Regions from separate parts of the Homo sapiens genome. Here regions 2, 3, 4, 5, 6 and 7 are each linked to region 1. Evidence: promoter capture Hi-C in 16 types of primary human blood cells and fetal thymus (Javierre and others, 2016). All regions are on one chromosome and are shown on one strand. The core of a region is centred on a gene start or on the middle of the fragment in contact, and the rest is flanking DNA. Distances in the headings are between cores, read along the strand shown. Region 1 holds the start of NDUFA10 (NADH:ubiquinone oxidoreductase subunit A10). Region 2 has its middle 25 kb from the start of MIR4440. Region 3 overlaps HDAC4 (histone deacetylase 4). Region 4 overlaps HDAC4 (histone deacetylase 4). Region 5 holds the start of LOC124908009 (a long non-coding RNA gene). Region 6 overlaps HDAC4 (histone deacetylase 4). Region 7 holds the start of HDAC4-AS2 (HDAC4 antisense RNA 2).

What was found. Contacts are between HindIII fragments. The CHiCAGO score rates a contact against its expected background, and 5 or more counts as called.
Region 2: a fragment that was not itself captured here is called in contact with the fragment with the promoter of NDUFA10 in region 1 in 7 of 17 cell types (M0 macrophages, fetal thymus, naive B cells and 4 more); the score reaches 8.0 in M0 macrophages.
Region 3: a fragment that was not itself captured here is called in contact with the fragment with the promoter of NDUFA10 in region 1 in 8 of 17 cell types (M0 macrophages, monocytes, fetal thymus and 5 more); the score reaches 11.2 in M0 macrophages.
Region 4: a contact is called between a fragment that was not itself captured here and the fragment with the promoter of NDUFA10 in region 1, in 2 of 17 cell types (M0 macrophages and neutrophils). The highest score is 5.7, in M0 macrophages.
Region 5: a contact is called between a fragment that was not itself captured here and the fragment with the promoter of NDUFA10 in region 1, in 1 of 17 cell types (M0 macrophages). The highest score is 5.1, in M0 macrophages.
Region 6: a fragment that was not itself captured here is called in contact with the fragment with the promoter of NDUFA10 in region 1 in 3 of 17 cell types (M0 macrophages, monocytes and naive CD4 T cells); the score reaches 6.9 in M0 macrophages.
Region 7: a contact is called between a fragment that was not itself captured here and the fragment with the promoter of NDUFA10 in region 1, in 2 of 17 cell types (neutrophils and monocytes). The highest score is 5.7, in neutrophils.

Annotation. Positions count from the first base shown.
Region 1 is chr2:240,024,051-240,026,691 of GRCh38, reverse strand. NDUFA10 (NADH:ubiquinone oxidoreductase subunit A10) reads left to right here and starts at 1,350. Exons shown (of 10, transcript NM_004544.4): 1 at 1,350-1,465. The coding sequence starts at 1,391. RefSeq lists an enhancer at 526-1,355 and a silencer at 1,164-1,423. The HindIII fragment of the contact is 3,872 bases long and covers 69-2,641 here.
Region 2 is chr2:239,043,024-239,045,664 of GRCh38, reverse strand. No RefSeq gene overlaps it. Among named protein-coding and RNA genes, the nearest start is that of MIR4440, 25 kb to the left of the region's middle. The HindIII fragment of the contact is 4,694 bases long and covers 1-2,641 here.
Region 3 is chr2:239,074,053-239,076,693 of GRCh38, reverse strand. The region is part of intron 22 of HDAC4 (histone deacetylase 4); the gene reads left to right. Among named protein-coding and RNA genes, the nearest start is that of MIR4440, 6.5 kb to the right of the region's middle. The HindIII fragment of the contact is 6,470 bases long and covers 1-2,641 here.
Region 4 is chr2:239,090,827-239,093,467 of GRCh38, reverse strand. The region is part of intron 17 of HDAC4 (histone deacetylase 4); the gene reads left to right. Among named protein-coding and RNA genes, the nearest start is that of MIR4441, 6.2 kb to the right of the region's middle. The HindIII fragment of the contact is 916 bases long and covers 883-1,798 here.
Region 5 is chr2:239,133,495-239,136,135 of GRCh38, reverse strand. It overlaps HDAC4 (histone deacetylase 4), which reads left to right. Exons shown (of 27, transcript NM_001378414.1): 10 at 1,493-1,609; 11 at 1,693-1,891. It overlaps LOC124908009 (a long non-coding RNA gene), which reads left to right and starts at 1,898. Exons shown (of 2, transcript XR_007088257.1): 1 at 1,898-2,641. The HindIII fragment of the contact is 3,488 bases long and covers 1-2,641 here.
Region 6 is chr2:239,152,729-239,155,369 of GRCh38, reverse strand. All of the region lies in intron 7 of HDAC4 (histone deacetylase 4), which reads left to right. Among named protein-coding and RNA genes, the nearest start is that of HDAC4-AS2, 40 kb to the left of the region's middle. The HindIII fragment of the contact is 1,536 bases long and covers 587-2,122 here.
Region 7 is chr2:239,191,818-239,194,458 of GRCh38, reverse strand. The region is part of intron 3 of HDAC4 (histone deacetylase 4); the gene reads left to right. HDAC4-AS2 (HDAC4 antisense RNA 2) reads right to left here and starts at 814. Exons shown (of 2, transcript NR_198956.1): 1 at 283-814; 2 at 1-97. The HindIII fragment of the contact is 2,559 bases long and covers 9-2,567 here.

The DNA of each region.
Region 1 (2,641 bases), core at 101-2,600:
AAAAAAAAAAAAAAAAAAAAAATGCAAAGGAAACAAGGCAAAAAACAGCAGACATGAACCCTAAAGCTTGTTAAATGGATTTCAGGTGCCCTCCAGGATCTAAAAACCAGACCCTCCTGCGTTGGGGACCGGGAATCCGTATTTTTGACAAAAAGCAATTCTTCAATTATAGAAACATCCATAGAACCGGCCGTAGTTTACACAGCTGCATTCCCACTGTTTTACAATCGCATGATCATTTCTGAAAAGTTGAAAACAAAGTTAAAGAATATTTAAGGGGTTAAGAACAAAAAGCCTGGGGAACACAAAAGATTATAAAAACCCTTCCCAACAGCAGGCATACTTGGAAGGAAACCTCACATGCAAGGCTCCTTCGTGGAGCCCAGAGCCCAGGTCCTGACGGGAGCACATTTTAAGAGATGGACTTGCCGGCGCGGTGGCTCACGCCTGTAATCCTAGCACTTTGGGAGGCCGAGGCGGGTGGATCACGAGGTCAGGAGATCGAGACCATCCTGGCTAACATGGTGAAACCCCGTCTCTACTAAAAATACAAAAAATTAGCCGGGTGTGGCGGCGGGCGCCTGTAGTCCCAGCTACTCGGGAGGCTGAGGCAGGAGAATGGCGTGAACCAGGGAGGCGGAGCTTGCAGTGAGCGCGATGGCGCCACCGCACTCCAGCCTGGGCGACAGAGCGGGACTCTGCCTCAAAAAAAAAAAAAAAAAAAAAAAAAAAAAAAAAAAAAAAAAGAGATGGACTTGGAGCGTGTGCTTTTGTTTTCTATGCTATTCAATGTGTTCACAGCAGGTCCCCTGGATGAGACCACTTAGCCTTCAGCTCCGGAGGCGACCCAGGCCGGCCTTGCCAGGTCCCTCTCCCTGACAGGCGCCCCGCGACAGGGGTCCCACCCCGTCCCTCCGCTCCTCGCCCCCTCTTTTTCCACTTTCCCTCCCCAGCGAGAACGTTCTGAGAGCTAGGAATGTTCTCTAGGAGGTCGCTTTGACGTCCACACCGCGCCTGGGGGATTCTGCGGGGAGCACAGGACCCTGGGACGAGACGCAGAAGTCGCTCCACGCCCTGGGCGGCCTCAGCTCCCGCGACACCGCAGCAACTCAGAACCCAGGCAGGGGCCGGGCAGCCAGCATGCTGCCCCCACGTTCACCTCCAACTCCCACCTCTCGGCCCTCGCCCCAACCCGCAGGACCCTGGCAGCGCACTGGCTGTCTCCGCGGAAGCCCCCGAGGGCCTCGGCGCGGCCCCGCCCCCTGGAAGGTTCCCGACAGGCGCCGCGGGCACCCCGGCCGTGACGTCACGGCAGCGCGCCGGCCGCGAGAGAGGGCCCCGTCGCGACCGCGTCCCCTTGGGTCCTTGATCCTGAGCTGACCGGGTAGCCATGGCCTTGCGGCTCCTGAAGCTGGCAGCGACGTCCGCGTCCGCCCGGGTCGTGGCGGCGGGCGCCCAGCGCGTGGTGAGCGGGCGGCGGGGTGGCAGGGTGGCGGGGTGGCAGGGTGGCGGGGTGGCGGGGTGGGGAGCAGTTCCACATCTCCCCCGGCCTCTGGCGGCGGCTCCCAGGTCGCTCTCCGGGTGGGTTTGGGGGACCCCTCCTGCCTCCGGAATTGTTTGGTCTTTGGTCGTGGACAGACCTCAGGGGGCCACGAGCTTCTCCAGGCCATTTTATCTCAGCTTTAAGCAAAACGCTGGAGCGCGGAGGTGATCAGGGCCCCGAGGCTGCCCTGATGCGGGAGGCCCGTGTGCAGGTGGCAGGCCGGGGGCACACGCGCTTGTCATTAGATAATTCACGTAGCAGCCCTGTCAAGAGCCGTTTAAAGGTCGGGCCCTGCTGGGTGCTTGGGTGATGCCATGTTGAGCAGACACGGAGTTCAGTGCTTGTGTCCGCTTCCTTTTGCCTTTACTCTGACTGACTACTCTCATTTCTTAGCATTTTGCCCCCACCTTCTTCAGTGAAATCGTTTCATACATTTGTAACACAGTTGGATTGCTTTGTCACATTCTGCCTTACATCTTGGGATCCTTCTACCTAATGCGTTTTTTAAAATGTGCATACATTGAGCGCATTCTTTGTGCTATAAGGTTCTATGGATTTTTTCTTTGTGCTATAAGGTTCTATAGGTTTTGACACGTGTGTAATAGCATGTCTCCACCATTATAGGTTCGTACAGAGTAGCTTCACTGCCTTAAAAAATTCCCCTCTGCTTTACCTATTAAACCCTTCTTTTTCTCCAACCCCTGACAACCACAGATCTCATTAACATTTCCATAGTTGCCTTTTCTGGAATGTCATATAATTAGAATCATACAATATATTGCCTTTTCAGACGCCTTGAATACTTGGAAATATCTATGTAAGATTCACTTATGTCTTCGTGGCTTGGTAACTCATTTCTTTTTAATCACTGAGTAATATCTCATTGCATGGATGTACTTCAATTCATTCAGCAATTGAAGGGCATCTTGGTTGCTTCAAGTTTTTGGCAATTATGAATAAAGCTGCTGTAATCGTGTACATGCAGATTTCTTTTTGGAAATACATTTTTATATCATTTGGGTAATACCTGGAAGAGCGATTACTCATGTAGTAAGACTAGTTTTCTAAGAAGCTGCCAAGCCATCTTCCAGAGTGACT
Region 2 (2,641 bases), core at 103-2,602, 980 kb after region 1:
TTCTCCTGCCTCAGCCTCCCGAGTAGCTGGGACTACAGGCGCACGCCACCATGCTCGGCTTTTTTGTATTTTTAGTAGAGATGGTGTTTCACCATGTTGGCCAGGCTGGTCTCAAACTCCTGATCTCAGGTGATCTGCCCATCTTGGCCCCCCAAAGTGCTGGGATTACAGGCATGAGCCACTGCACCCAGCCAAGGATGGTAATATTATATGGTACTATATATATATGAGACTTTAATATAAATATATACTATACTTATACTATATATATGAGACTTGAATAATATATGAGACTTGAAGGTTTATTTTTAAATGCACTCAAAATTTCTATTTAAAAGGAACTCTCTGGCCAATTAAACTTGTTGATTTGATTTCAAATGCAAGAACATTTCTCTGATAGTGATGGAAAATAAATTCATATGAAAATGTGGGAAAAAAGAAGTGTGGCATTGTAATTCGTGCAAGTCTTGGGATTTATGTACAAAAACTAAAATGCTGCGGTGTTCTCAGTTTCTTAAAAGTTTTTGTCTGATATCTGAGTGTACAAAAAAATGGAAATTCGGGTTTGCAAGTAAATCGTGCTATAATTTCAACACATGCTGTCTTTTACATCAGATTCTCAGGAAGCGCAGGTCATAATGCAGCTTGGGAGGACCCAGGAAGTGGTTCCACTTAAACTTCTGGGGTGCAGTTGTAGGGAGTTGTATGTCCCTGACACACTCTTAGTTTCAATCTGGATGCAGCTGCTCTTTGAAGTCACACTGAGTCCCTAATATGTACTTGGGGCCTCAGACTAATGTGTTACAGTGTTGAAGTTATTAGTAAAGCCCCTTTGGAAAGTAAACAACTCCCAGTAATGGGCAGTTAGATATATGACAAAATGACAGATGATGGCAAAGCTAATGTCTGCGTGGGTGACACACATCTACCGAGCCAACCACAGATATTCGCAGGGCCAGGGGCCAGGGTTCAAGTGGAGACCGCCATATGCCCAAGTATGTGGACACAGATCAAGCTCCAAAAGTGTTATGCAGAAATGTGGGCTCCTCACCACCTTGACAAATCCACCTCCCTAAAGACGCAGGAGGCCAGGCTGGAGCCGCGGCTCTCAGCCTCCCAGGGGCCCTCGGCAGCCTCTGCCACCGCCTCTCTCTTCCTACTCCTGCTGGGGGGACCACAGCCCACCCCCTGCCTAGCTGCTTCTCGGGCCTTCTCACCTGGCACCAGAACCCAGAATGGCTCCTTAAGGGTTCTCCCCAGATGCTGCACATAGCATTTCTGCTTAAGACCCCCTGGGGCTTGTGGCCACAGCAGCTGCAAGCAAGGCCAGGATGTGCAGTCTTCCACAGGTGCCCACCTGTCCAAGTGGAGACAGCAGCTCTGCTGTTACAGAAGAAAGGGAGGGTGGGTACTGAGAGACACCAGAGTCTCTGCCACAGAACCAAGAACACCTGCAAACCTTACCAACACATGAGGAACCACTGTACCCAGGTACCTCACAACCCCCAGGGCCTTCCTATGAGGTCCACACTCTACCTGAAAGACATCTGTGCCAGTGGGAAGGCGGAGGGTCAGGGATGGTGCTGCCTGGACTCTCTGGGTAGGCACAGCCAACTAATGATACCAGCAAGGGTGGCCGGCCCTTACAACCACATTCTAGCCAATCGGAGGTTCTCTTCTTTCCTAGAAGCAATCGTGGGAGCCTTCCCCAGAGAAGAAGGTGGTACACACAGGTCCAAGGTGAGTATCATGACCAGAAGGAAGTCACCAAACGATGCCAGACCAGGAGCTGGCACTGTGCTGTCTGGCTAGTGAATTACTGGAGGACTAAGGATAAAATTTACACAGGTACCAGGAGAATTCTACAAGTAATGGCTGCGTGCACAGCTGCGAAGCTGATGAGATGCTGTTCAAGCGGAATCACTAGAAATACAAAAAGACATTTCGAAGAGATGTTAGGCCAGGCGCATACAGGAGCATACAGCAGAAATAAAAAATAATCACACGGATGAACATCGTGGATTCTCCTACAAGCTCCAGGTGGGAAGGGCTGCTGAAGAGGGAACGGATGAAGCGTCACAGTGGGCAGCTCTCTAAGCGGCGCCTCTCTAACTTGGTCCCAGCTGGCAGCGACTTGGCAGGAGCCACCAGGTGTGCCGTGCAATGGAGAGCTGGCCAGCCAAACCCAGAGGCCCTCATGCCTCTTTAGAAAGGCAAGAAGAAACTGCAGATATTCCGTATGAGTCCGTTCTCACACTGCTATAAAGAAATACCTGAGACTGGGCAACTGATAAAGAGAAGATGTTTAATTGGTTTACAGTTCCCCAGGCTGTACAGGAAGCATGAGGCTGGCATCTGTTCGGCCTCCGGGGAGGCCTCAGGAAACGTCCAGTTATGGCAGAAGGGGAAGCAGGTACGTCTTCCATGGCTGGAGCAGGAGCAAGAGATGGGAAAGGGGCCACACACTTTGAAACAGCCAGATCCATGAGAGCTCATTCATTCACTCCACAGTACCGAGCGGGGATGGAGCTAAGCCATTCACGGAACTCGGCCCCCGTGATCTGATCACCTCCCACCAGGTCCCAGCTCCAACACTGGAGATGACAATTCAATGTGAGATTTGGCAGGGGCACAGACGCAA
Region 3 (2,641 bases), core at 100-2,599, 950 kb after region 1:
GCATTTATTGGGGCAGAACGGCAGCCAGAAACTCAAGCATGGCGTGCCAGCCCTGAGCCCAGTTCCCACGGAGTCCCCAGAGGCTTGCCGGCTGTGGGTGGCCACAGGACTGCAGCCTCTTGGCCCCATAAGCTCGGTTTGCTCTGAGGCTTGTGTTGACGGAAGGTGTGGTGAGTTTTGTTTAGGGTCCTACTAGGGGAATGAACTGGAAGGTCATTTCTTTCCAGATGTTGAAACCCAGCTGTTAAGTGAATTATTGCATTTAGATGCAGTTGTGGCTTTTGAGGATGGTATGTACAGGCCATAATTTGATGGTATGTGGTGGTTTAGAGCTAGACGTGCCCCGTGACACAGCCCCTTGCGCAGAGCACAGCTGGGAGGCTGCACGAGCGATGGCCTTTCGAGGAAGCAGAGTGGCCGGCACCCTGCCTGCTGTCCCGGTCCAGCTCTGTTCCCCCTGGGAAGCCGAGGGGCGTGGCCAACACCCGCCTGCTGTTCCAACCCAACCCAGCTCTGTTCCCCTGGGAAGCCCAGGAGAGTGGCCCGGCACCCGCCTGCTACTGCTATCCCGGCCCAGCTTTGTTTCCCCGGAAGCTGAGGGGAGTGGCTGGCACCCGCCTGCTACTGCTATCCTGGCCCAGCTTTGTCTCCCAGGAAGCCAAGGAGAGTTCGCTGGCACGCGCCTGCTACTGCTATCCCAGCCCAGCTCTGTTTCCCAGGAAGCTGAGGGGAGTGGCTGGCACCCGCCTGCTGTCCCAACCCAGCTCTGTCTCCCTGGGAAGCCGAGGAAAGTGGCCAGCACCCACCTGCTATCCCGGCCCAGCTTTGTTTCCCGGGAAACCAAGGGGAGTGGCTGGCACCTGTCTGCTGTCCCAGCCCAGCTCTATTCCCTGGGAAGCTGAGGGGAGATGTCGTCTTCAGGCTGCAGGTGCAGGTTGGCTGATGACCGAGTGAAGGGTGCAGTGCTGTGTCGGTAACGAAGGTGCCAGAGAAGCCACATTGAGGCCACGGGAAGGGGATGCGTGGCACCCCACGGCTTCACACGGGACCTCCCTAAATGCAGAGGCCACCGCGAGGAGAAGCCGCTCTCTCCCCTTAGCACCACGTTTCCCTCTGTACGTGCCTCACGGGCACAGGCACCCTCTGGGCACCACAGTCATGGCTTCCCTGGGCTTGCCGGCCCCAGGGGTGCACCTTACAGGCATTTGTCCACCTTCTCTAAAGATCCCCTCTTTCCACCCATTTCTCCTGCCTCTTGAGCTGACGATCAGTGGACGATCAGTGGGCCTACTGCCTTGGGAAACTGCGAGCCCACCCCTCTCTCCCCTCAGGTTGCCCCAAGAAAGGCCAAAAGTGACCTCATGGAAATACTCTCCTTAAAGTGATGGCTTGAGAGGCCCACGGCAAACATCTCAATCTTATTTTTTTAGAGACTGAGTTCTTTTTTTTTTTTTTTTTTTTTTTTTTTTTGAGACGGAGTCTCATTCTGTCGCCCAGGCTGGAGTGCAGTGGCGCGATCTCGGCTCACTGCAAGCTCCTCCTCCCAGGTTCATGCCATTCTCCTGCCTCAGCTTCCTGAGTAGCTGGGACTACAGGCACCCGCCACCACGCCCAGCTAACTTTTTGTATTTTTTAGTAGAGACCGGGTTTCACCGTGTTAGCCAGGATGGTCTCGATCTCCTGACCTCATGATCCGCCTGCCTCGGCCTCCCAAAGTGCTGGGATTACATGTGTGAGCCACCGTGCCCGGCCGAGACTGAGTTCTTTATTAAAAGTTTAATTCTGGGAATAAAATGTGAGTCCAGTTTCCCATTTTTTGCAGCATCTATTAAACAGGGACATTCCTTCAGCTTCCTCTTGTAGGAAAGTCGTGGAGGGTAAGCACAGTCCTGAAGACACAGGGAGTGCCATGCTCAGCTTCCTTTTTACAGGCAAAGAAGTCATGTCCCATGGAGGAGAAGGGACGTTTCTTAGTCGCGCCACAAACGGGTGCTGAAGGTGCACTCATGCACCTCACGTTCTGACCTTCTTATGTCTAGCAGGTGTTTGGGATCACAACCTAGAGGGTGTTGAGCCCAGTAAAATGAAAATGAGTGTGTGGGCACGTGCATCCGACTGTGCCCCACGCAGCCTCACGTGTGGCCGACGTGCCAGTGCCCACGAGCCTGGGCTCATCTTTCCCATTTTGTTTTGACTGGCTTTGAGGCAACACCACACACCAAGCCTAGACAGCAGAGACTCTCTTGGTATGAACTTCATTTAACGGCGATTTTCACAGGACTTCTTTTTGGAGGGGGATTAGAAGTAAAATAGCTCAGCAGCACTTCAAAGTGGGGAAGTAAAGCCTCCACGTGCGCTCGCTGCAAAGCAGCAGTCAGAGTGCCTCGCCAAGGACACAGCGTCCACACAAAACGCCTGTGGTTCTCATTGAAAAAGGTCTTGGCTTTAAAATCCACACCAAAAGCATGGCTGGAAATGTGTTTTTCTGTCCAAAGAAAAAGGTTTTATGACAAGAACTTTATTAAAATAATTAGAAGCGAGTCTCCTTGGGATGATGTGGACAGTTGAAAGCAGAGGGCGGCCCCCTCAGTCCTGCGGCCCCCCTCAGTCCTGTGGCCCCCTCAGTCCTGCTTCCCCACTC
Region 4 (2,641 bases), core at 91-2,590, 930 kb after region 1:
GCTGTCGCTGGCACAGATGCAGCTCTCCTGAGCCTCATGTCTCCTCCAGAGCCAGGAGGGGCCAGCCTCCTGGGGTGTCAGGAGGAGCAAAGTAGACCTCGGGAGCCGAAGTGTGGGCACACAGCAGGTGCTCTTGTCAGGGAGGGCAGAGCAGGTGAGCAGAGCCAGCCACCTTCCCCGAAAGCAGCTGCAAACTCTCCCGGAGGCAGAACAGTGGGGCTTGGAACACGGAAAACTCACCACTCCTCGGCGCTGGGAAATGGGAGCTGTAAAGTGCTTTGACCTCTTTTTCAAACCAGATCAGCTCCTGCGTTGCTCCTCTCCAGTGACCGCAAGTTTCAACTGGGTGAGGAGCTGGTGTCCCTGCTCGGCCTCGCCCAGCGGAGTCCTGGCCTGCTCTCGTACGCCCGGCTCCCCGCGGCTCCTCTGAGCTTCCCAAAGGCCTCCCAGCCCTGCCAGCCCTCGGCATGTCCCTTTTAGACTCCATGGGATTATCCGTGGGAAGCTTTCTCCATGTTTCCCCCCGCCTTTTTCCTGTCTTTATTGCGAAAGAGAGAGAAAAGGAGAGGAGAGAAGCGAGAGAGAGAGAAAGAAAGGAAAAGAAAACAAAAAAAAAAAGAAACGAAACACAGAGTGAGCCATTTGCTCCTTCCTGCATTAGCAGTTGCGGCCGCCTGCCCTGAGCCAGGCTATTGCTCAGTGGTGGCGCTGCACGCCTGAGCCAGGCTCCCTGCAAGAGGCCTGGAGCTCCAGGCTGGTCCCTGGGAGCTGGAGCCGTGGTCCTGAAGCAGGCGAAGGAGGGTCTCTTGAGTTCTCTGGGGACTGGGGTCCTGCAGTTTGGCTGGGGCTTTGTCCTTCACTCTGTGCAAGACTCCAGAAGCTTCTGAACCCCAGGGTCCCATGGGAGGGGGCACAGACACAGGCACCTGGTAGACCGAGCAGCTCCTTGGCACCCCAGGTGTGCAGAATCCCCAGAAGACCCTTCAGAACACGGGTGTAGTACACCCTCCGCTCCCTGCAGTGTTGGCCTAATCCCAAAGCCTAGTTCATTGTATGTTGGAGAGAAACCATCTCTGGGTGCTGTCCCCACAGGGGCAGCCTCGGGGCCTGGCCTGTCTGGGACCCCGCCTCTGCTGGCTGACACAGAGCAGGTGGCAGAATCTTGCCCTGCCCAGCTCTCACTCCTGCGATGTCACCTTGGATTTTTTTTTTTTTTTTTTTCCTCTTTGGAGACAGAGCTTCAGTCTGTTACCCAGACTGGAGTGCAGCGGTGCATTCATGGCTAACTGCAGCCTCGACCTCCTGGGCTCAAGTGATCTTCCCGCCTCAGCGTCCTGAGTTGTGGGGACTACAGGCCCAGGCCACCACATCTGGCTAATTTTTGTTTGTTTGTTTTTGAGACGGAGTCTGGCTCTGTCGCCCAGGCTGGAGTGCAGTGGCGCGATCTCGGCTCACTGCAAGCTCCGCCTCCCGGGTTCACGCCATTCTCCTGCCCTAGCCTCCCGTGTAGCTGGGACTACAGGCGCCCACCACGGCACCTGGCTAATTTTTTTTTTTTTTTTTGTATTTTTAGTAGAGACGGGGTTTCACCGTGTTAGCCAGGATGGTCTCGATCTCCTGACCTTGTGATCCGCCCACCTCAGCCTCCCAAAGTGCTGGGATTACAGGCATGAGCCACTGCGCCCGGCCCACATCTGGCTAATTTTTTGAAAAGAAAACCATCACCGAATACACTTCAGGAAATGTCTTCAGCCCCTTGAAAATGCATTTTAACTCACCTTGCTTTGATGATGAAGCTTCAAGACCGCCTGGAAAGAAATCCTCCCTCCCCACATAATGAGCGGTGTCTATCAAGTGGCAAGTCTGCCTGGTGGTGGACAGGAGCCCTCGAGGGCCTGGTCTGGGGAAGGGAGAGGCAGGGTGGACACGCCTGGCTCCTGCTTAGGAGCCCCAAAGCACTCGGCGCTCAGAGGGGCTCAGTTTGAGAAGGAGGCGTCCTGCAATGGACCTGCAATCGCCCTGGTCAGCACCGTGTGGAAGCTGAGCAACCTATGACACGGCTTCTAAGACCTCCACCGGGCTGGGCACCCCCAAGTCCCCGGTGTGTTACCCCACAGCAGCTTGCAGGCAAGGGACACACTTGGGGACAGATGCTCAGGTTCCCTGGGGCCAGCCCAAGGGCTGTGTATTTCATCTTAACACCTCCCTCCCCTGGCCAGACTCCCATAGGAGACTGCTCTGTGCAGAACTGGCTGTCCAGGTCTCTGTCTGTCGACTTTCCTCCTGAATTGAGCCAGGGCTGTAAGAAATTTCTGGTGTGCCTAAATAAATAAATGAGCCAACACACAATCGGGGATTGTTGACGTGTTTGTGTGAAACACGTTTTCTGTCTGAAGTGGAAAAGGCCAGCGGGCTGACTTGCTGGTGTCCAGGCAGAGCCGTGTACCGTCACTAGGGCAGAGCAGGGCAGCTCTCCTCACCCGCCCACACGGCCAGTCCCGCTTAGCTACGCTGGTCAACATGTGGAGCTTCCAGTTAAACTCGGCACAGGAGAAAGTCACTATTGGAAGAGACTGGTCGTGATTCCCCTTACATTTCATTTTGCTGCTAATTATTTGACAGGTCGACTATCCCTTATCCG
Region 5 (2,641 bases), core at 72-2,571, 890 kb after region 1:
TTTTATTCCTTCTCTTTGTTTGCCCATTCATTCAGCAGACATTCCTTGAGTAGCTACTGTGTAGGGGATATAGTGGTGATAAACTATTGTCCTTTTTAGCAAAACACGTTCATTCTACAAGCAAAAAGATGTTAAATATCACAGTAGTTCAAGTCCTTGGAGACTGTTGCTGCTGACTCTTCCTGTGTGGCCTTCTAATCTTTACTCCTGGCTTGTGTTTGCTTTATCCAAGCCCATTCTTTAAAAGGTACATGATCTATAACCTGTTTTTCTAACTTAATGTATCATAAACAAGTGTCCAAGTAATCAGCTAGATCGTTCCCAACCCCCAGAGCATCCCGGTGTGCAATGCCCCTCCGTTCTGTTAACACCAAGGTGTCGGGGAAGCCGCATAGCTCTGCCATGCCTGCTGGGTGCTCGGCCCTGCAGCGGAGGCTTCATGGGCATCAGGCCATCTCCTTATTTCTTAACGTTACATCCCAAGAGTGGAGCTCCAGCATCAAAGGTTAGACAGATTTTGAAGGCCTTTGACATAGATTGCCAAATTGTCCTGCAGAAAGGGTGCCACTAACTGATTTGTGATTCACCCAACAGTGTTCGCCGTTCCTCTAGGCCAAGATGGTATTACCATGTTTCAAAAGTGTTTGCCAATTTGTTGGGTTTCAGAATACCTTTTTTGATGACCATGATGTGTTTTCCTGAGCGCCTTCCCCTTCCTGAGCTCTGCCGTCACTGGTCCTCACCGCGTGCTTTTCTCACTGTTAGTTGTTTGATTTGCAAGCTCTCTGTGCTGACCCTCGTCTGCCTCATACATGGCCAGTATTGTCATCATTGCCCACCTTTCGTAGAGGCAGTTGTTTTATGATTTTCTCTTTATTTTTAATTTTTGTGGGTACATAATGTATATATTTGTGGGGTACATGAGATGTTTTGATACAGGCATGCAATTTGTAATAATCACGTCATGCGAAGTGTGGGATGTCCATCCTCTCCGGTGCTTATCCTTTGTGTAACAAACAATCCAATCATACCCTTATAGTTATTTTTAAATGTACAGTTAAATGTTATTTCCTTTTTGTTTTCTGCCTTTGATGTTATGTCTGGAAAGACATTGCCAACTACAAAAAAGCATTGTAAACTATATTATCCTAGAAACTGCAAAACGGCATTGTAAACTATATTAGCCTAGATTTCCTTCTAACTGTTCTGTGGTAAATAATCAAACTGAATAGAAATCAACGAGATGATGCTGGACAAGGTGACAGAAGAAGAACTCGTATCGGGAGGAGGAAACTGGAGTGGTGAATTGTGCTTTCATGTTGTGGCACGTGTTGAAATCTCATGCTCTCATTGCTGTCTCATTTGTTACATGTACGTTTACGCTCATATATCAGAATTCAGTGCAGGTGTTTTCATCGTTGTTTTTCTTGGTGTATATTGCTGATGTTTGGCCGTGACAGACTGTGATGGTCATCGTGTGTTCTGTCCCCAGACGAGTTTGGCGCACAGACTTGTGGCACGAGAAGGCTCGGCCGCTCCACTTCCCCTCTACACATCGCCATCCTTGCCCAACATCACGCTGGGCCTGCCTGCCACCGGCCCCTCTGCGGTAAGTCAGCCCCCGTGGGTCCGTGTGGTGTGGGGTGGTGGTGATGGGTCCTTCCACCCGAGCATCCTGGCTGTGCTTTCCAGGGCACGGCGGGCCAGCAGGACGCCGAGAGACTCACCCTTCCCGCCCTCCAGCAGAGGCTCTCCCTTTTCCCCGGCACCCACCTCACTCCCTACCTGAGCACCTCGCCCTTGGAGCGGGACGGAGGGGCAGCGCACAGCCCTCTTCTGCAGCACATGGTCTTACTGGAGCAGCCGCCGGCACAAGCACCCCTCGTCACAGGTGAGCACAAATGGGCCTGGGTGCAGCCAGGCTCTGAGGCTGCCCACGCTCTGGATGGTGCCCCGCCTTCGCCTGCCTTTGGAGGAGACAGGAATGCACGCCTGTCCCACCCCCACAGTTCCCAAACACACATCCCCATCACGTGATGTAGCCACCGTGACTGCAGTGAAAATCCATGCCTCACTCCCAGAGTCAGGTAGATGGAGTGGAAACAGAAGTCACTTCCCCTTTCTCACCTTTTGGGAGAGGCCACCGGCTCTTGCGATTTGGGTTTCTGTCTGGACCAAGCTGAGCCAGCGCTGGAAGCCCAGAACCGACTCTTGTGGTCAGTTTGTGTTAGCGAACTTTTACAAATGTGCACTGTCTGGGGGAGTGGTTACATTTAGAAAAATACAATTTAGAGGAAAATGGGAACGTCCTTATGAAATTACATAGCAACAGCAATGTGAAAGTGTCACTTCAGAAATGAGGGCACACCGGCCGGACACGGTGACTGACACCTGTAATCCCAGCAGTTTGGGAGGCCGAGGCAGGCGGATCACGTGAGGTCAGGAGTTCAAGACCAGCCTGACTAACATGGTGAAACCCCGTCTCTACTAAAAATACAAAAATTAGCTGGGCGTGGTGGCGCACACCTGTAATCCCAGCTACTTGGGAGGCTGAGGCAGGAGAATTGCTTGAAATTGGAAGGCAGAGGTTATAGTGACCCGAGATGGTGGCACTGCACTCCAGCCTGGGCAACAGAGCGAG
Region 6 (2,641 bases), core at 105-2,604, 870 kb after region 1:
TGTTGAGGCGGTGGTGTCCCAGGTGGAGTGGGCTGTATTGGGCTGGCCATGTCCCAGGTGGACTGGGTCATATCAGTCTGGCCCATGTCCCAGGTGGAGTGGACCATATCAGGCCGGCCATGTTCCCAGTACACCTATTAGGGTTTATTGAGGCGGTGGTGTCCCTGGAGCAGTGGGCCGTATTGGGTCAGCCATGTCCCAGGTGGAGTGGGTCATATCAGGCTGGCCACGTCCCAGGTGGAGTGGGTCGTATCGGGCTGGCCATGTCCCAGGTGGAGTGGGTCGTATGGGGCCGGCCAAGTCCCTGGAGGAGTGGGTCATAACAGGCCAGCTGTGACCTCAGAGGAGTGGGCCGTATCGGGCTGGTGGAGACCCTGCTGGAGTGGGCCATATCAGCACGGCCATGTCCTCTCCAAGTCAAGAACCCTGCAAACATGGGCGCATTTCCATTTGGGCCATAAACCTTTATTGGGAAAAGTGAACCTAGAGCTTCTGCTGCTTTGTTTCATGGGTGTGAGCCTGTGGTTCTTACTGATGCTTCTACTGAGAATGGTCCTGGATTTCACCTGGAGAGCGCCCTAAAGCTTGACAGAAAGAACGGATTTAGAGATCAGTATTTTTTCCAGAAAGATGTGCCCAGTAGTATCAGGAGAGAATCTGTGGGCTGATTCTTACAAATCGCCCTCCAGGTTCCCTTTCTGGGGACTGATGCTATTATTAATCAAATTCCATCAACAAAACCAAAGTCCGCGGTGAGTGGTGGGCCCTATGCTGGGAGAGAGACCCGGGGAATGGGGAGGCAAGGAACATGCCTACCCGGAAGAACCCTGCCCTAGAAACTGGAGCGATGCCGAGGGTGGAGGGTGGGAGCCCGGAGGTGTTGTCATCAAGTGCTGTGGGTTGGATGTGTGCTCATTCATGTAATAGCTCTGTGTGCCCTGAAACAAATGCCTTCCGTTCCCCTGGCCTCCATTTCCTCATCAGCACAGTGGGTCTGCCCACACCCACATCCTCACGGCTGTGGCATGCACCCATCCCCAGAGTCTCCTCTTGTCCTGGGAGTGATGGCTGTGGCACTCAGACTCCAGAGCCATGGACCCAGGAGGGAGCTTCCAGCGAGAGCACCAAGCCCAGCAAGTCGGCCTCATGTGGGGACGTGCCTTCCCAGAAACTCCCCATTTGGAGCCTTTCCACCAAGGGCCCCAGGAAAGGACAGCACACACCACCCATCCCATCAGGCCCCAGAGCAGTTCCTCAGCAGCTCCACACCCCAACTCGCAACAGAACAGCAGGGATGGGGGAGCCCTAGGAGCTATTTGCACTGGCTCCTCCCCCATCCCAAATGTCAGCACTACCTGGGGATCAGCCTCCTGTTCTAAGAAACAGAACCAGCTTGAGTACTTCATAGCAAGGAAGGCTATCAGCATGGGAGACGGCACACTGTCACGGCCCTGCCCTGCTGTTCACCATCAGAGGCCTTTCTCCCATAGGCAGGGCCCGCGCCATCTCTCGTAGATTCCGTGGCTGTTGGCTTCCCATGCTGCCTTGTGTTTCTCTGGGGATGATTGGAAGCAAAGTCTCCAACACCTTCTACTGTGCTTCTAACCTTGTGATAGCACCACCCTCCAACTCCCTGCTTTCTTGAGAACGGAAGAGAGAATTCTGTTTTCACACTCCGGGAAATGTTATTTAGAATACATAGTGCTCCAGAAGAACTTAATTAAGATTTGATTGCATTATCAGTTTTTTAAAAAGTCATCACTACCACATTAATAATAATAACATAAAGATTTCCGAGAAAACGTTTAAACCACTTAAGAGAATAGTGTGTAGTTACACACCCTGTATCACCCTTGACATCTACTTTCAAACACATGACATCGCTCATTCTAAGTAAGTTATATCTGTGCTTTTCTGCAGTAATTGGTAATATGAAACACGTCATTAAATTTTAGTTATGAAGTTCCTTGAATGAACTGAAATAGTCTTTAATAATTGTGATGTAGACTTAAATAATTATATGATTTTGATTTTACATTAACTTATCCTGACCCGGCACACAGTTTGCCCATTTCTGCATCTCTAAAGGGCAATTGTATGACCTGTGAACATGTGAAAAGCTTTGTCACTGTCTTGTGAATTTTGTCGTCACCCCATGCATTTTTTGCATGTCCTTTGCTGGCTCTGCTGACAGGTAACGCCTGTACCAGCTCAAACGTCTGACCTCCCTGGTGAAAGCAATGCAGTGACTCCTATTCGGAGCTTGGGCATATTCTGGGCATTCACATCGCCTGCACCTGTGGGCAGGACCAGGTGCCTGAGTTTCTACCCAGCTCCTTCACCCGCCACCTTGGGACCTGGGGAAGCTCTTGAACCTCTCTGTGCCTCAGTTTCGTCATCTGTGAAATGTACCTTTAAATTGCTTCTCTCCTGGAGCTATCATGAGATGTGAATTAATTAATATTTGCAAAGTCCTTCGAGTAGGACCAGATCGAGGTGTTTTCTGCTCTTGTTTCTCTACGCTGTTAGGGTGTTTTTGATTTTTTTCTCCATCCAATGACTGGTAACTGCCAGACCCAGCATCCCCCCACCTCCTTGCCTCCATGCCTACAGTTCAGGTAGAAACCAGCAGGAGCCACTC
Region 7 (2,641 bases), core at 39-2,538, 830 kb after region 1:
CCCAAGCTTCAGAAGAGAATTCCCCGGCAGCAGCGTGGCGCTCAGCATGTTCCGTGTCTGACTGTTTTGATTGTCTCTCAGTCCAGTTGACAAATTCCTTTTAAGATGAAATTTGAATTAATTTGCAGAACTTGTACAAATCTCCAAGAAAACAGCTTAAGGAACAGATTAAAGAATGAATGCCTTAGGAATTAAAGCATTAATAGCTCTTGAGTAGACTGGATGGAAAGATGAGTTGTGTAGGTTATCCAGATGAGGCTACATCCAGGGAGCAATTCTTACCTTCAGAGGGCGCTGCCTGTCCTCCTTGGCATCCAAGTGAGCGCATCTCCTCCACGCTCAATGATGAATGCTGGCCGGCATCCCTGTGAGGAACCTTGTGATCATTTTCCATTTCTGAAAACTCCCAGGTGGTGGGGGCCCTTGGCCCACATCAGCATTGACCACCCCGGGCTCAGATCTGGCCAGGTGCCTGCGTTGTGATGGGAATTTCAGTACACTGAATTTTGCCTCTGACCCTGATGAAATAGCTTCGGTGGCATTTGCATCAAGATCATGTTAGTGTCATCTCTATTAGATGCTTTGGAGCAAACATGAACTTGGGTTTCCTTTTAAGATGTCCTGTGATTCCAGATTCAGGGGAATCTGAGAAAAGTTTGAAGAAAGAAAATTCCACTCGGCCAGCCAACCTTGGGTGTGCAGAGCCTGCCCCGCCTTCCCCACTTTGTCCTGAGAAGCTGGGTCCTCCCCAGCACCAGAGTTGCTGCTGCTTCCCCTCGCGCTCTTGGCTGCTCTCCCGGCCCCAAGCCTGAGTGACACTCTAGGATTGCAGATGGCAGGCTGGTCTCTGGGCTCCCCCGTCCCCATGACCCTCCACCTGCACCCAGACCTCTGGGTCCTTGCTCAGGCAGCCCCTGCCCTCGGTGAGACGCAGCCCACTGTGGGCCCTTCCCCTGGGCCTGCCATCAGCTCCTGTGCTCCTCGGCGCCCCAGCGGCTGCCCTGGGCCCGTTCCCACAGCACCTGGCACACAGCAGGAGCCATGAATGTTCTTTGGGAACTGAATGAGGAGTGGAAATGCGGGCATGTCATGTTTTTGAAGTTAATAAAAAAAATCCCTTAAAAGTTGTTTTATGTTCGGTTTTTAAAGAGATTAACACCAGACGTTTACAATGCTGCCCCCTCCCTCCATCTGTGAGAAATTAGAAATGGAGGGGGATGCGCTAAAGCCAGCAGCGGGTCAGGCCTCTGCCCAGCGCCTGTGGTGGGACCCTGTTTCTACATGGGACCTTGGGTGACAGCAGCACATCTTATAAGCAGGGGTCCCACCCAGGCCCCCCACACAGGGATAAATGAGGCGAGACGTAGGCAATAACCCAGCTTCCAAGATGCAACGCTGTGCAGTTACTTATTCCCTGTGCTTATTTGTTCAAGCTAAAATGTCTCTGTTTGACCAAACAGAAAGAATATGAGAGAGACCAGTTTCACCTACAAATATAGACACCAGCATTCTAAATAACATGGTCGTTGTTGATGCTATTTTGTTTTTCTAACTTTATCCCTTCCTGGAGATAAATGCAACTTTGTTCTTCTACATTATACAAGTGTATGCCTTCCCCGATGGGTTCACCCATGGGTGCTGACTGTGTAACTTAGAAGAACAAAGTTGTGTTTATCCCTGGAAAGCACGGGCCCGCTCACCTGAGGCACTCTAGGAAGTCACTGCAGGGCACTGGTCCCAGGAGAACCGCGTGCCAATCACAGCCATGAACGCGGAAGAGGGAACCGCAACCTGACAGTCATTCACGAGACTGTGTGTTCAGGAAAGCATTTAGCACCGCCGTGCTTGTGAGAGCCGGACCCGTAGCCCCCAGTGCCCACAGCAGGGAGCCCGCCAGCTGAGTCTTCTTCAAGAAGCCAGGCCCCGTTCTCTTTTCTCCGAGTTTGCGAGTTTGCTGACTTAGCTCTCCTCCCTGCCTTTCATATATTTTATTCCTTAAAAGAAAGTCTGAAGCAAATGTAGGTGAACGCTGATGTTTCATAAAACCAGCATTGCTTACGCAGTTTTTCCATTTTGCTATATTTTGTCATAAAAATGATCAGAAAAGGGAAGAAAGGAAATGAATAGGGTCCAGTCCTCACCCACATATGGGGTGGGGGAGTGGGTGGACCCCTGCTTTCTGCTCCTGCACATGGAACAGTCCTCACCTATGTGTGGGGTGGGGGGTGGGTGGACCCCTGCTTTCTGCTCCTGCACATGGAACAGTCCTCACCCATGTGCGGGGTGGGGGGTGGGCGGACCCCTACTCCCTGCTTCCGCACATTGAACACGCAGTTTATGTGCGTAGATTCTTCTCACATAATAGCAAATGAAAACCTTTTACTGTGTCAAAGTCGACACCCAATTAAAAACTAAATACATGCATTTTAAAAGTTGGGGGTTGCACTTCACTGATTTGGGGAAAGAAACAGAAACAGTCAGAGAGGAGGATTTCATTTAAAAAACAACAATAACAACGAGGCAGCCCGTGCTGCGCTGTGGAATGTGATCAGATATATTCAGAAGCTTCTGTCACCTTCTGGGTTGCTTTGTGTCTTTTCACTGTCCAGGAAAGTGGCCTGAGCTGGTCTTCGTGGCCTGA